2 separate regions of the Homo sapiens genome follow, and region 1 is linked to region 2. The links are contacts of gene promoters, found by promoter capture Hi-C in blood cells and fetal thymus (Javierre and others, 2016). All regions are on one chromosome and are shown on one strand. The core of a region is centred on a gene start or on the middle of the fragment in contact, and the rest is flanking DNA. Distances in the headings are between cores, read along the strand shown. Region 1 overlaps LOC124901771 (a long non-coding RNA gene). Region 2 holds the start of ZNF282 (zinc finger protein 282).

What was found. The method cuts DNA at HindIII sites, captures the fragments that hold promoters and counts their contacts. A CHiCAGO score of 5 or more calls a contact.
Region 1: a fragment that was not itself captured here is called in contact with the fragment with the promoter of ZNF282 in region 2 in 1 of 17 cell types (neutrophils); the score reaches 5.7 in neutrophils.

Annotation. Positions count from the first base shown.
Region 1 is chr7:149,736,415-149,740,702 of GRCh38, reverse strand. LOC124901771 (a long non-coding RNA gene) reads left to right here. Exons shown (of 2, transcript XR_007060585.1): 2 at 691-829. Among named protein-coding and RNA genes, the nearest start is that of KRABD3, 24 kb to the right of the region's middle. The HindIII fragment of the contact is 9,706 bases long and covers 1-4,288 here.
Region 2 is chr7:149,193,078-149,197,151 of GRCh38, reverse strand. ZNF282 (zinc finger protein 282) reads right to left here and starts at 1,606. Exons shown (of 8, transcript NM_003575.4): 1 at 1,398-1,606. The coding sequence starts at 1,562. RefSeq lists an enhancer at 539-588 and silencers at 1,029-1,388, 1,509-1,830, 1,649-1,938. The HindIII fragment of the contact is 5,667 bases long and covers 632-4,074 here.

The DNA of each region.
Region 1 (4,288 bases), core at 278-2,777, 540 kb before region 2:
TGATGCCAGATATACCATATGTATTTGCCTCATCCACAGAGCTTACAGTTGGGGGCTGGTGGGTGTGGGGGGCAGACATTCAACAAAGTAACACACAAATAGATGCTGCAGATTACTAATTTTTATAACAATCTATTTCTTCCTCCCTGATTTGCCTCAGACACTGACGAATCTAATGTGAAGGTCCAGAGTTCAGTGTGCCTCTCGCCCTGCATGTTTTGGGGCCTTCCTTAGCTCTGAAGCCAGAGAATCCCAGCTCAAACTCACCTAGCAACTGTGTAGCTTTGAGCAAGTTTCTTAATTTCTGTGCTTCAAGGAAATCACAAAAAGTGCTCAATAGTTCTCTCCACATAAATCTTTTTTAGATTGATTCCTGGGCTCTTGAGTTTTTTGTTACTACAAATAAAATCTTTAAAGTAATACTTTCTAACTGTTGGCTGTGGGTATATGTAAATATAACTTAGTTTTGGTATACTGGTTTTTAACACTTCAATATGTCACCATTAAGCATATTAGCTATTGATATGGTTTGGCTGTGTCCCCACCCAAATCTCATCTTGAATTGTAGCTCCCATAATCCCCACATTATGGAAGGGACTCAGTTGGAGGTAACTGAATCATGGGGGTGGGTTTTTCCCTTGCTTTTCTCATGATAGTGAATAAGTCTCATGAGATCTGATGGTTTTACAGAGGGCAGTTCCCCTACAGTCTCTTGCCTGCCACCATGTAAGACATGCCTTTGTTCCTTCTTCACCTTCCGCCATGATTGTGAGGCCTCCTCAGCCACGTGGAACTGTGAGTCCATTAAACCTCTTTTCTTTATAAATTACTCAGTCTTGGGTCTGTCTTTATTAGCACCATGAAAATAGGCTAATACAGCTATCATCTTTTTTTTGGTATATAATCCTCATCAAATTAAGAAATTTCCTTTCTCATCCCAGTTCACTTGGAATATTGATGGGTGCTGGCTCTTATCAAGTGATCTTTCTGCAGCTATTGAGATGATCATGTGACTTTTCCCCTTTAATCTATTATTGTGGGTTACCACTGGTGATTTTCAAACGTTGAAACCATTCTTGATCGACAAGATGAAGCCAACTGGGTAATGATGTTTTACTCAGTAAAACATTTTGTGTATTGCTAGATTCTCTTTGGCTAATATTTTGTTGAGTATTTTTCCTATGTACATTTTTTGAGATTAGCCTGTAATTTTGTTCTCTTGTACTGTCCTCAAGTTTTGGAAATTTCAAGATTATGCCAGTCTCGTAAAACGAGTCAGAGAGTGTCCCATATTTTTCCATTCTCTGGAATAGTTTGTATATTATTGAAATAATTTCCTTTTTAAATGTGAGATAGAACTTACTAGTGAGGCCTTTTGGGCCTACAGTTTCTTTTCTTTTTTCTTTTTTAGATGGAGTTTTCTCTTGTTGCCCAGGCTGGAGTGCAGGGACGTGATCTTGGCTCACTGCAACCTCCACCTCCCGGGTTCAAGTGGTTATCCTGCCTCAGCCTCCCAGGTAGCTGGGATTACAGGCGTACGCCACCACACCTGGCTAATTTTTTGTATTTTTTAGTAGAGACAGGGTTTCATCATGTTGCCCAGGACGGTCTTGAACTTCTGACCTCAGGCCATCTGCCTGCCTTGGCCTCCCAAAGTGCTGGGATTACAGGCCTGAGCCACAGTACCTGGCCCTACAGTTTCTTTTGTAAGATGTTTGATCACTAATGCATTTTTTTTTCAATGGTATGGGACTATTCAGGTTTTGTTTTGTTTTGTTTTTGAGTCTAAGTTGCATTCTTATGGGAGTTATTTTCATTGAATTTTCAAACTTTTGGCAAAAAGTTGCTTATAATATCATCTTATTGTCTTTCTATAGCCTGCGGCATCTGCAGTAATGTCACCTTTTTCATTCTGAGACTGGTTATTTGTGCTTTCTTTTTTCATTGATGATTTCATCACAGGCTAGTAGTCAATGTTATTAGCTTTGTAAAGAAATGATTTTTGGCTTTGTTGATTATATCATTTATATGTATGCTATTTCAGTAATTTCTGCTCTTATATTTGTGTGCCCTTTTTAACTTTTCTTTGGATTTCCTTTGCTGTTCTGTTTCTCCTTGTGAATTCTGTCCTTCCTTTTCCACATACTCACTTATGTCTATACATTTCTAAGTACTGATATTGCTTTATGCTACACATTTTGATATGGTTCCTTTCCTTTCCTCTCCTCTCCTTCCTTCCTTGTTTTCTTTTTTTTGAGACGGGGTTTCACTCTGTCACCCAGGCTGGAGTGCAGTGGCACGATCTCGGCTCACTGCAACCTCCACCTCCTAGGCTCAAGTGATTCTCCCACCTCAGCCTCCTGTGTAGCTGTGACTAAAGGCACATGCCACCACACCTGGCTAATTTTTGTCTGTGTGTGTGTGTGTGTGTGTGTTTGTGTGTATGTGTATGTATGTGTATATATATATATATATATATATATATATATATTTTTTTTTTTTTTTTTTTTAAGTAGAGATGGGGTTTTACCATGTTGCCCGGGCTAGTCTCGAACTCCTGGACTCAAGTGATCTGCCTGCCTCAGCCTCCCAAAGTTTTGGGACAACAGCCGTGAGCCACCACACCTGGCCTGTGGTACTTCCTTCATGGTGGGAAACATTTTTAATTTCCATTATGATTTCTTCATTGACACATGGGTTATTTTAGCAGCATAATTCTCATTTTTGAATATATAAGAATTTCTGGTTATTATTTAATTCTAGCTTAAAAGGTAAAAGTATTGTCAGAGAACATACCCTATATAATTTCAATATTTTAAATTTATTTACACTTACTGTAGGGCTTAATATATGGTCAATTTTTGTAAATGTCCTGTGTATGCTTGAAGAGAATGTATATTAAGCAGTCCCATGGCACACAGTTTTTGTTTGCTTGTTTGAGATGGAGTTTCACTCTTTACACAGGCTGCAGTGCAGTTGCATGATCTCAGCTCACTGCAACCTCTGCCTCCCGGGTTCAAGCGATTCTCGTGTCTCAGCCTCCCAAGTAGCTGGGATTACAGGTGCATGCTACCATGCCCAGCTAATTTTTGTATTTTTTGTAGAGACAGAGTTTCACTGTGTTGGCCAGGCTGGTCTGGAACTCCTGGCCTCAAGTGATCCATCCGCCTCGGCCTCCCAAAGTGCTGGGATTACATGTGTGAGCCACCGCACCCGGCCCCATGGTGTACTGTCCTATACGGGCCTCAATCAGGCCAATTTTGTTAAGGAGTTTGTTCGAATCTTCTACATCCCTCCCAATTTGTTCCATCATTTTCAGAGAAAGATATGCTAAAACCTCCCAAATATGATTGTGAATTTGGGTGTTTCTCCTTTTAGTTCTTTACATTTTGAGGCCAGCAGAGGAAAAAATGGATTTTTTTTTTAACCCACAACAGTGTTAATACAAAATAAGGCAGGGAAGAGAAGCCCCCTCGGAAGAGGTGGGACAAACAAAAAGCACAAAGTAAGAAAGTCTGTTAAAGCCTCAATAAATCAGTCAGTCAATTACATTTAAATGGATTAAGGGCTCCCAGTTGACGAGCAAAATCTGTCAAGATGGTTTATGAGATAAAATCCATAGGTTGTGCATAGGAGCCACATCCAAAACACAAACCCGCACAAAGGTTAACAGCATGCCTGCTGCTCTTGACCAAGCACCTTCAGCGGGGAGCAGTGAATCGTGGTTCTTGCACCCCGCAGGCCAGCCTCCCTTCCATCAGGACCCCTGGGGGTGGCCAGAAAATAATAGGGGCACGAGGAGCCCATTCATTCATATTTTGAAGCGGAACCTTCACATGTTCCTGCCTGCTGGGGGACTCTGGCTGGCAGACTGGGAAGGTCGCACTCAGATCAGCCAGGACCCGTTCGGCTCACCCAGGATGGAATGAGCAGCCTGGAGCCTTCTCTGCCCCCAATTCCAAACCCTGGAGCTCCTTTGAGTTCAAAAAGGTCCTTCAGTTTCTCCCATCAAAGGGACCACATTTCCTCTTCCAAGCCACACTGCACAGTTCTTAAAGGAGATGGGCACAGTGCCAAAGACCTAAACTGCATCTAGATTTTCCACTAGATCAATTCTAGAAGGCGTTTCAGTGACTGTGGACAGGTCCTGGAGACCTAGACCTAGGGAACTGCTTCTGCAGGAGGAACGCAGCTGCAGACCATGGAACTTCTTACCACTTATTACTTAGAATCCACATTCTTAAAACAACTTTAAACTTATTATATGGTCCAACTGGGTCTGGACCAC
Region 2 (4,074 bases), core at 357-2,856:
GCAATTGAGAGCTGAGACCTATGGCTAAGGGGGGCTGGTTGAGGCTGGTGACAGTTCACTGGTCATCTGGGACCTGGTGTCAGACTCAGGGCTCACTGGACCACATGGGCTGGCAGCCGACTCTCCTTCACACCTGGGACAGGAAGAGGTGTCATTTTCTGTCCTCCCGATGGCTGCAGAAAAGGCCCTCAGGCTAGGAAAAGGGGAGGCCTGCTGCTTGGGGCGATCTGGGCAGACCAGCCCCACTCTCTGACTCAAGAGCAGCCCTGCTCCGGGGCAGACCTGCTCCGGGACACAGCAGAGTGGAGAGCAGGGCCCTAGGATCGCCAGGCCCTGTAATACCAGTAAGAGGTGCTGGTGTTTCCATCAAAAGCACCCATTCCTCCATCACAGAGGCTCCACTCCGCCCTAGCCCACAGAAGGGGACAGAGTCCACAGTAGAAGTTAAGAAAGTCCCGGGGCCCAGTTTAGTTTTCTCGGGTTTGAAGCCCTAACCCTGAAAATGATCAAACACAACACAGCAGCCCCTGGCTCCCTCGTTAGCACCTGGCTGAGAGCCGCGTGGTGAGCAGAGGGGCCCCTGAGCAGCCCAGCCCCAGGGTGGGCCCAGAGAGTCTTCCCTGGGCAAGCTTTCAGGCCTCTCTGAGGATCCACCTCCCCTGGTTTTATACCCAATTCTGGAGCACCGGTTCTGCCCACGGAGATCATCGATGGAGCCTGAAGAAATGCCTGGTGCTACTCTCACCCGTCAGAGACCCTGAGCTCTGGGACCAGGCAAGGGCTCAGGAGTCTTAAAAGCTGCCCAGGCCATTCCAACATGCGGCCAAGTTTGTCAACCGCAGGAAAGACCCCGAAGTCATCTCTCCATGGCCCCCTCCCTGGATCACACCCGGTGCAGGGGGAGAGTGAATTACTCATTACACTTGGTGAAAGGTGGTAATCAAACATTTAAAAAATATCCCCGTCAAATTGGCCACCGTGTAAACACGAACGAGGCATTCACTTCTGCGGCCGGGCGGAAGCACTGCCCGCGAAGCTCTCCGCCGGCCGGGCGCAAAGGGAGCCCCAAGCCGGGGCTCAGCCACAGGGTCAGAGCTCTGCCAGGTCCCGGAAAGGACGGTCCCGGCCCCCGCCCCGCGGGGCCTCCGCACTTGGGCCCGGCGACCGCTGCTCCGCGCCGCGCGGGCCAGGCCTGCCCTTCCGGGCCTGCGTCGGGCCCGCTCCGTCCTGCCCGCCGCGCAGCCCGGCCGTGCCCCGCCCGCCTCGGGCCTCGCCTGGGCGCGGAAGCTGGGAGGGCGCCGCAAGGCTACCGGAGGACGGCGCGGCCCGGTCCCGCGGCCCAGCCCGCGCCCCGCCCCCACGGCAGCGCGGCCATGGCGCCGGCGGGGTTCTCCCACCTGCATGGGCGGCATTCCCTCGGCCATTTCCCCGCGCAGCGCCGGCTCCTGGTGGCAGACCTCCTCCGGGGGCAGAGCCTGGGCCCAGCTCCAGCTCCCGCTGTCCAGCCCCAGGCCCTGGATGCCCAGCTGCTGAGGCTGCGGCCGTGTTGACACAAACTGCATCCTGGGAGTGCTGTTCCCCGCTCGGGTCGGCCAGGGAGAAGAAGAACGTTTTCCAGGCGCCTTCCCCCTCTCCGGGGCCGGACAGCTCCATCTACAGCCCGTAGGAGCAAACAGTCCCCTTCGGCGGCGCTCCCCGCCCCTTGGCAGCCCGCGCGCCAGCCAATGGCCTCGGAGCTCCTGCCCGCCTGCGGGGACCTACCGGGGCCACTCCCGGACTGGGGTCGCCACCGCCCCAAAACTGAGAGGCGGCGGCCTCGCCCAGGGGTCAGGCCCCCTCAATCTGGGATGGCCGACTTTAAAGGCCCAAACTATGCGAGGACCTGGACTGTGGGCTTGATTACTGTTAATTCTGCAAATGTATTGGGCATCCCGGGAGAAAATAGTGCCTGACCCTTGTGAAAATTTTGCAGGAGTAATTCTGTCTTCAGACACTTTCTTCTGGCCTTCTGCCTTCCCTCACTCCTTTGCAGACTTTACCTCCCACTCCCCTTCTTCCCAATCCAGATTTACCTGGACCCATCCCAGAGCTTTTGCACTGTTATGGATGATAGAGAAGTGATTCATGTTAAGGTGTCAAAAGAGGGCTGAGCTCTTTCTCCCAGGTAAGGTGCAGTGCATTTTAACAGTGGCCTCTTCAAACACCTTGAAATTGGGTTGGGCGTGGTGCCTCACACCTGTAATCTCAGCACTCTGAGAGGCTGAAGCAGGAGAACGACTTGAGCCCAGGAGTTCGAGACCAGACTGAGCAACATATTGACACCCCATCCCTATAAAAAATAAAAATTAGCCGAGCGCGGTGGCTCACATCTGTAATCCCAGCACATTGGGAGGCTGAGGCAGGCGGATCACCTGAGGTCAGGAGTTCGAGACCAGCCTGGCCAACATGGTGAAACCCCGTCTCTACTAAAAATACAAAAAGATTAGCCGGGCGTGGTGGCGTGGGCCTATAATCCTAGCTACTCGGGAGGCTGAGGCAGGAGAATCGCTTCAACCTCCGAAGCGGAGGTTGCAGTGAGCCAAGATCGCGCCAGTGCGCTCCAGCCTGGGCAACAGAGCGAGACTCCATCTCAAAAAATAATAATAAGGCCGGGCGCCGTGGCTCACGCCTGTAATCCCAGCACTTTGGGAGGCCAAGACGGGCGGATCACGAGGTCAGGAGATCGAGACCATCCTGGCTAACACGGTGAAACCCCGTCTCTACTAAAAATACAAAAAAATTAGCCGGGTGTGGTGGCGGCGCCTGTAGTCCCAGCTACTCGGGAGGCTGAGGCAGGAGAATGGCGTGAACCCGGGAGGCGGAGCTTGCAGTGAGCCGAGATCGCGCCACTGCACTCTAGCCTGGGCAACAGAGCAAGACTCCGTCTCAAAAAAAAATAATAATAATAATAATAAAATAAAAAATAAAAATTACCCGGGCATGATGGCTAATGCCTGTACTCCTAGTTACTCAGGAGGCTAAGGCTGTAGGATTGCTTGAACTCAGGAGTTGGAGGTTGCAGTGAGCTGTGATTGTGCCGTTGTGCTCCAGCTTGGGCGGCATAGCAAAGATCCTGTGTCAAATAAATAAATAAATAAACCTTTAAATCGGGCAGTCATGGTGGCTCACACCTGTAATCCCAACACTTTGGAGGCCAAGGCTGAGGCCAGGAGTTCAAGACCAGCCTGGGTGACACAGCGAGATCCCTTCTCTACAAATAAAACCCTTTAAAGGCAGGTCAGTGTCACTTTGAAACATCAGGCCAGGTCAGAGGAGGAGCCAGGGAGAGGCCAGTATAAGCTGATGAAGATGGAGGAGGGGAAAATTCAGTCATTCCAAATGTATTTATTGAACACCTACTGTGTGCCAGGTACTGTTTAGGAAGAGGGTGAGCTTTGCAGTTGCATACACCTGAGTTTAAATCCCAAAATCACCACTCACTAGCTATGACTTTGAGCAACTTATTTAACTTCTCTGAGCCTCATTCTCTTCATATATAAATGAAGAAAATAATGGCAACTCTATTTTAATGTTGTAAAATTAAATGAGAATTGTGCCTGGCACATAGCGAGCATTCTGCAAAGATAGTTACCCCCAAAAGGTGTTTTTGTAATTATTCTCAAAATAGTATTTACTTTGTTTTCCTAAAGGACCAGTCCCTGTCTTGTTAAGGAAGAGATCTCTGAGGCTCATCACCTTGTGTGGAAGCAGACCTGCTAGTACCTTTAAGTTCCACTGCACTTCATAAAATAAAGGACATTATTGGCCTACGTGAGACATGTGCTTAGAAGGCCATATTCAGAAGAACAGTTACCAAGTACTTTCTCTGCTAGGCACACTTCTAGGATACAGAAATGAGTATTCACAGACTTAAGATTATCCTCAAGGAGCTTATAGGCCAGTAAAGTCCATGCTCCCAGAAGTCAGTGATTTCCTTCCCTGCTTCCTGGCCCTGATTGTAAACATCACGTCCACTTTTATTAGAGGAACCAGGCAAGTTAAGTCTGAAAAGCTCTAGGCAAATTCATTTCCACC